Regions from separate parts of the Homo sapiens genome. Here region 2 is linked to region 1. Evidence: promoter capture Hi-C in 16 types of primary human blood cells and fetal thymus (Javierre and others, 2016). All regions are on one chromosome and are shown on one strand. The core of a region is centred on a gene start or on the middle of the fragment in contact, and the rest is flanking DNA. Distances in the headings are between cores, read along the strand shown. Region 1 holds the start of OR1L1 (olfactory receptor family 1 subfamily L member 1). Region 2 overlaps LOC124902265 (a long non-coding RNA gene).

What was found. The method cuts DNA at HindIII sites, captures the fragments that hold promoters and counts their contacts. A CHiCAGO score of 5 or more calls a contact.
Region 2: a contact is called between a fragment that was not itself captured here and the fragment with the promoter of OR1L1 in region 1, in 1 of 17 cell types (neutrophils). The highest score is 5.0, in neutrophils.

The regions. Positions count from the first base shown.
Region 1 is chr9:122,659,725-122,663,297 of GRCh38, forward strand. OR1L1 (olfactory receptor family 1 subfamily L member 1) reads left to right here and starts at 1,992. Exons shown (of 1, transcript NM_001005236.3): 1 at 1,992-2,924. The coding sequence starts at 1,992. The coding sequence ends at 2,924. The HindIII fragment of the contact is 3,812 bases long and covers 880-3,573 here.
Region 2 is chr9:122,621,944-122,625,570 of GRCh38, forward strand. All of the region lies in intron 1 of LOC124902265 (a long non-coding RNA gene), which reads left to right. Among named protein-coding and RNA genes, the nearest start is that of OR1Q1, 9.0 kb to the left of the region's middle. The HindIII fragment of the contact is 2,155 bases long and covers 983-3,137 here.

The sequences.
Region 1 (3,573 bases), core at 742-3,241:
CACTATGCCCAGCTAATTTTTTTGTATTTTTTTAATAGAGACGGGGTTTCACCGTGTTAGCCAGGATGGTCTCGATCTCCTGACCTCGTGATCCACCCACCTCGGCCCCCCAAAGTGCTGGGATTACAGGCGTGAGTCACCGCGCCCGGCCCCAACCACTTTTTTTGAAAGTTGCTTTAACAATAAAAATATCGATCTGGTTTGCTTAATGTTTGTGTGTTACAACTGTAATAAAATTAATAGCTAACGCTATATATATATGCCCTGATGGCTTTCCTGAGTGAGAAGCAAGGGTCATACATAAGTAGACTTAAGGATGCTTCAGACAGAAGAGTAAAGATTCCAGGCCTAGGGTCTAAAGTCTTAACCCTATTGCTTATTATATTTTAAAGTTCTAAGAACAGTGTCTAGCAAGGGACTGCTTCTAACACTGGGAGATGGGAAAGTGACTAGTGGCATAAGATGTTCTAGTTGTTTTAGCTTGATGATCAACGAATTCCGAGAAAACGTTCTCCAACCCCACATTCTGTCTTTCAATGTAAGCAGCACAGCGGTGAGGCTCAGGAAGTCTGTCACTTGAGCCAGCCTCACACAGGTGGGGTCTTTTTCACCAAAAGGAGTTAGGTCAGGAGGGTGATTTCTGAGAGAGAGAGAAGGCACTGACACTCCCCAGGCTCCTTGGGGAAGAAACTCCAAAACCGTAATAGTTCTTGGCTTGTTTTCTGCTGTCTTCTCCATCTGAACTCCAGGGACTTCTTGATGATCTCAAAGGATGCTCCCTTGACAGAGGGTGGGGTCTATGAGTGTCTTTAATCTCTTCAGCATGTGGGAGGCCCAGAGGAGGAAGAGAGGAAAATCTTCAGCTTCATGAGGGTTGAAAGCTTGTCTAGAATCAGGTGCCTTCTCTGTGTGGTTTTTTGGGGAAGCATATATATAACTGAGACTGGAATTGGGAAAAGAATTACACCAACACAGACAAGCATGCACTAACAATGACGATTTTAGCATTTAGGGGCTGGATAACAAAAATGAGGTTTATGTTACATTAAAAGAAATGTTGGCCGGGTGCGGTGACTAATGCCTGTAATCCCACCACTTTGGAAGGCCAAGGTGGGCGGATCACTTGAGATCAGGAGTTCGTGACCAGCCTGGCCAACATGGTGAAACCCCATCTCTACTAAAAATACAAAAATTAGCTGGGTGTGGTGGCACAAGCCTGTAATCCCAGCTACTCAGGAGGCTAAGGGGGGAGAATCGCTTGAACCCAGGAGGCAGAGGTTGCAGTGAGCTAAGATTGTGCCACTGCACTCCAGCCTGGGTGACAAAGCAAGACCTTGTCTCAAAAAAAAAAAAATAAGGAAAAGAAATGTTTTTACTATCCTGTTATTTCTGTCTATCTTTTGCCTCTTCATACCTATCCTTTCACTCAAATAAGGTTTCACTAAAAAATGAGGGAAATGGAGTAACTGTTGGGTAATCTCATATTTCAATGTCTTTTTACATGATTGCCAGCCTCCAGAATAACTGATGCAGACAGAAGTATCCGAACTAAGGGAAATCATTATTCCATCAGCTGGAAATTGAGAGATGAAACTTTTTTAAACCTGTCATAAACTAATTACTGAAAACCGTGAATACGATAAATATATACAGAAAAAGAAGAGAATAATTTCTCCAGGATTCCCCTCCTCTCCTTCTGGGAATTCTCTTGCACTCACTCCTTCCTCTTGCCCTATATCTCTTCTTTTCTCTTTTTCCCATTTCTGTTTCCCTGTAATTTGTTTCTTTATAGCAGGCAACTGAGATTAAAATATATATTAATTTCTAAATATCCCACATTAATGGAAAGAAACCACAATCCAGATAATTGTAATGTTTTAAATTTTTTCTTTGCTGATAAGAAGAATAAAAGGAGAAATTTTGGACAGATTGTATCAGATGTTGGAAGAATCTGTTACAGTGTTAGTTTATCTTTAGGTGAACCCACAACTATGGGAAGAAATAACCTAACAAGACCCTCTGAATTCATCCTCCTTGGACTCTCCTCTCGACCTGAGGATCAGAAGCCGCTCTTTGCTGTGTTCCTCCCCATCTACCTTATCACAGTGATAGGAAACCTGCTTATCATCCTGGCCATCCGCTCAGACACTCGTCTCCAGACGCCCATGTACTTCTTTCTAAGCATCCTGTCTTTTGTTGACATTTGCTATGTGACAGTCATTATCCCTAAGATGCTGGTGAACTTCTTATCAGAGACAAAGACCATCTCTTACAGTGAGTGTCTGACCCAGATGTACTTTTTCTTAGCCTTTGGAAACACAGACAGTTACCTGCTAGCAGCCATGGCCATTGACCGCTATGTGGCCATATGTAATCCCTTCCACTACATCACCATTATGAGTCACAGATGCTGTGTCCTGCTTCTGGTTCTCTCCTTCTGCATTCCACATTTTCACTCCCTCCTGCACATTCTTCTGACTAATCAGCTCATCTTCTGTGCCTCAAATGTCATCCATCACTTTTTCTGCGATGATCAACCAGTGCTAAAATTGTCCTGTTCCTCCCATTTTGTCAAAGAAATCACAGTAATGACAGAAGGCTTGGCTGTCATAATGACCCCGTTTTCATGCATCATCATCTCTTATTTAAGAATCCTCATCACTGTTCTGAAGATTCCTTCAGCTGCTGGAAAGCGTAAAGCATTTTCTACCTGTGGCTCTCATCTCACAGTGGTGACCCTGTTTTATGGAAGCATTAGCTATCTCTATTTTCAGCCCCTGTCCAACTATACTGTCAAGGATCAAATAGCAACAATTATCTACACCGTACTGACTCCTATGCTAAATCCATTTATCTATAGTCTGAGGAACAAAGACATGAAGCAGGGTTTGGCAAAGTTGATGCACAGGATGAAATGTCAGTAAAAGACCTAAGGTCTTAAGAGAATACCACAGATCTCTTGCCCTGGACTATAGGTTATTAATGGGTATGTGATTCTGAAATGATTATTAGATTCTGAAAGGATAGTACCTTCAATGATGGTGTTTCATTCCTTACAGAAGAATGTTTATTGCATGTATTGAAGCTACTCCTGAATATAATGCCTACAAACTAAGTTGGATCACTGTAATCTCCTGAGTATCCCTATTCATGCAGCTGGGTTTTCTTGTATAGTAATGTAAAGCTGCTTGAATGTCTTTGAGCTACTCTGTGTGTGTGTGCGTGCGTGTGTGCATGTGTGTGTGTATGTGTGTGTGTGTCGCTTCATCATATTAGCCCAGGGGCTCCTCAATAACGAGGTCTCTCTCTTTCTCCCATTATAAATGTCAGAACTGTGACTCCTTCCTCTGCATTTCCTCAAAGATTAAAGCCTGGCTTCTATAGTTGTCATAGTCTCAACAAATAAAATCATCCCACTAGATAACTCTTAGTGAATCAGTGCCAGGTCAGGTTCCTAAGAGTATGGCATCTCAGTATTCTTCCTGCTTCCCACCTGGCAAAGCTGACTGTACCTTAAATCTCTCATTAATTTCATTTGACCCAAACTCAACTGCACTGTTTTCCCGGGAGGTA
Region 2 (3,627 bases), core at 810-3,309, 38 kb before region 1:
GCTAAACCAAGAGTGAATCCTAATGTAAAGTATGGATTCAGGGAGACAGTATGTCAATGTAGGGTCATCAATGTTAAGAAATATACCACTACTCTGGTGTGGAATGTTGATAGTGGAATAGACTATGTACATGAGAGAAAGAAGTATATGGCAGCTCTCTGTGTTTTTTGCTCAATTTTGCTGTGAACCTAAAGCTACTTTATTTATTATTATTTTTTGAGACAGGGTCTCACTCAGTCACCCAGGCTGGAGTACAGTGGCACAATCATAGCTCACTGCAGCCTCAATCTCCCAGGTCAAGCCATCCTCATACCTCAGTTTCCCAAGTAGCTGGGCCCACAGAGGCCCACCACCATGCATGGCTAATTTTTTTTTTATTATTATAGAGATGAGGTCTCACTATGTTGCCCAGGCTGATCTTGAACTCCTGGCCTCAAGTGATTCTCCTGTTTTGGGCTCCAAAAGTGCTGGAATTACAGGAATGAACCACCATGCCCAGCCCTAAAGCTACATTAAAATATTAATCTTATTTTAAAAAAATAAAATAAAAACCAAATGCATTTGCAGCAATAGCAGAAAAATCATGGTAAATCTCACAGTATGTGTCAGAAGGCATCCAAAGATATGTTTTTGAAAAATGTAAATATGACCAGCAGTTAAATAAAAGTAAGATGTATAAGCTTCTAGATATCTAGTGGGGGTAAAGATAACAAAAAATGTGAAATGCAATACAAATTATGAGAAAAAATGAGCTAAAATAAGATCATATACTGTCTGAGTAACCCCACATCTGGAAGTAATCCAAACTATGGAGGAAGTGTATATATTAATTGCAACACAAAGGAGACAACATTAATTTACAGAAGAAAACAAATAGTGGTGTACCCACTCAGTGTTTATTGTAGGAAGTTAAGAGATCACATCCCTGTTCCGCTCAGCTTCTAACCAACGGAGCAGACAAAAAGGGTCACATCAGGATCAAAGCTTTATTATAACAGTAAATCTGTCAGTTAGGGCTGCTATAACAAATTAACATAGACTAGGTGGCTTAAACAATATTTATTCCTTGCAGTTCTGGAAGCTGGAAGGTCCAAGATCAAGGTGCGGGCAGATCTAGTGTCTGGTGAGGGCAGGCTTCCTTGTTTTCAGATGGCCATCTTCTCATTGTATCCTCACACAGTGGAGCGCCAGAGAGACAGGATAAAGAAGCCCTCTCTGACCTCTTCTTGTAAGGGCACTAATTCCATTCATGAAGCCTCCACCCTCACAACCTGATTATCTCCCAAGGCTCCCACCTCCTAACACTATCACCTAGGAGGTTAAAGTTTCAACATATGGATCTTTGGGGGACCCAAACATTCAGTTCATAACAGAGTGACTCTTCTCTTCCTCCTCCCAATTGAGGATAGTTTCCCCTTAACCTTTCCTGTACCTGGACAGAGAGAGCAGAAGCGTGACTACTTACAGTCACATTAGTTCATACAGCCATGGTTCCCAATCCTGGCTTTGCACCTGGAGAGAATCAAAAATATCCCTGTCTGGGCCCACCTCTACTGATTCTGTATTAATTGGTCTGTAGTATGACCTGGGCATCAGTATACTTTTAGAGCTATCACATGTTTCTGATATGCTGTGGGATTGTTCTGTGCCACTCACACAGAAGATTGAAGCTCAGGGCTAGCCAGAATAAATGTAAAGATTACTAATTAGAAAAATTCCTCCTCTTCCTGTGTATAAGTGGTAGGTGAGGGTTAGACTAGAAATTTTCCTGCCAGTTTGTTTACTTCTGCACTGTGAGGTAAGATTGGTTCTCTTTATGGACACTTGAGGGTGAAGAATTAAATGGTTCCTACCACCAGGTATTTAGCAGCCATGAAAATTCTTATAACAGTGACACTGTAACACCATGGAAAATTATTTTGACATTATTTTAAACATTTTTGCAAAACTGTATGTAAATTGTTATTATGAAAATATGCATATGAATAAAATTTTTATATTCTAGTGGTAGGATAATTTTTTAATCAAATAAAGCACACTAAGACCCTGCTACTTACTCAATGTGTGGTCCACTGAGCAGCAACATTGGAATTACATGAAAAATTATTATTAGAAATAAAAGTTCCATGTAAAGTTTGAAAAGCACTGTGCTAGGAAATTGTCAAAAGAAGCAGAAGCAGAAGAAACAGAAGAGGGAGAGGAAGAAAAGGAAAGACAGAGAAGAGAAGAGAATAGAGGGGGCAGGGGCAGGATTCCAGGAAAATGTATAATTTGTTAAGAAATTAAAAAGGTATCTTTTTCACCAGTGCTGTACAAACTGTGAGCTTTTCCAGCAAAAAAGAACATAGTTGTCAATGGGTGCTTATGAATATTTGCACATGCTTTGTGACCAGCTGCTTTGGGAAATAATTAATAAATATATAACATAGCCTTTTCTCTCTTCAACAGTATAATCCAGTTTCAAAAATGATGCTGATGGACTTGAAAAATGGACCATAATCATAACAACTTTTCTCTGTTACTTAACAGTTTACAAAGCAAAATTGCATGCACAATGTTAGAAGCATAATTAACTTGTGAAGAAAGTAATGCAGGTATTATCATCTCTGGGAAAACCCAGGCTCACAGATGCAAGACCTCAATCAAAATGACACAATGAGGAAGTGATGGGATTGAGTTGAACAAAAGTGGATGAAGCCTGATGACTTCAAATCCAATGCACATGGGCTGCATATGTGCTGATTCATGCAGTACACTCTGTAAGATTAACACCATGAACAATGGAAGAGATTGACAGCAAGGAGGCCCATTTGTAATTTGCATAGGAAGTGATAAAGATCTAGATGAGGTAAAAGTTATGAGAATTGAATATAGTTCAATTTGGAGGGGAAATATGGAATACAAGCCACAGGTTAGTTGGAGACAGATGATCTGATCAAGGGTTAACTCCAAGCAAGTAAATTATTCTTTCTGTGCCTCATGGGGGTAATAACAGCAATTACTTCATCAGGTTGCTGAGAGACATAGTGAGTTAATATGTGGAGAGATCCTCAAACAGTGTCTGACACATAGTAAATGCTATATAAAAGCTATTACTACTACTCAGATGCAAGAGATTTTAGGAGGATTAATTGATAAGCTTCAAAACACATCACATTAAGCCAATGGTCTTGACTGTAGCTACGTATTAGAATCATTTGGGGAATATTTAAAAATACTGACACCTAAGCTTTACCTCATAGCAAGTGGATCCAAATCTCTAGAGTGGAGGCCCAGGAAACTGAATTTTTTAAAACTCCCAGGTGATTCTAACGCACAGTGAAAGTTGAAAAGCACCGATATAGACAGAGGAAGAATTAGGCTTGACTTATTGGAACCTTAGATATCAGTGGTGATAATGGCAATAAATGAAGAGCTGTGGAAATGAATCTACTGTGAGGATTTAATTTCCTAGATTTTCACTGTAAGGTGATATTAATTTGAAAAGAGAAGTGATATATTAAGAGTGGATGAGTTCTGTGACAGGATGAGACAAGCATAGGCAAGGTGCCGAAGACTTGAAGTAGAAGGAAGAGATGTCACACAAGGTACAGAAAAGATGGAGAGACATTAGAGGACAGCAATGGT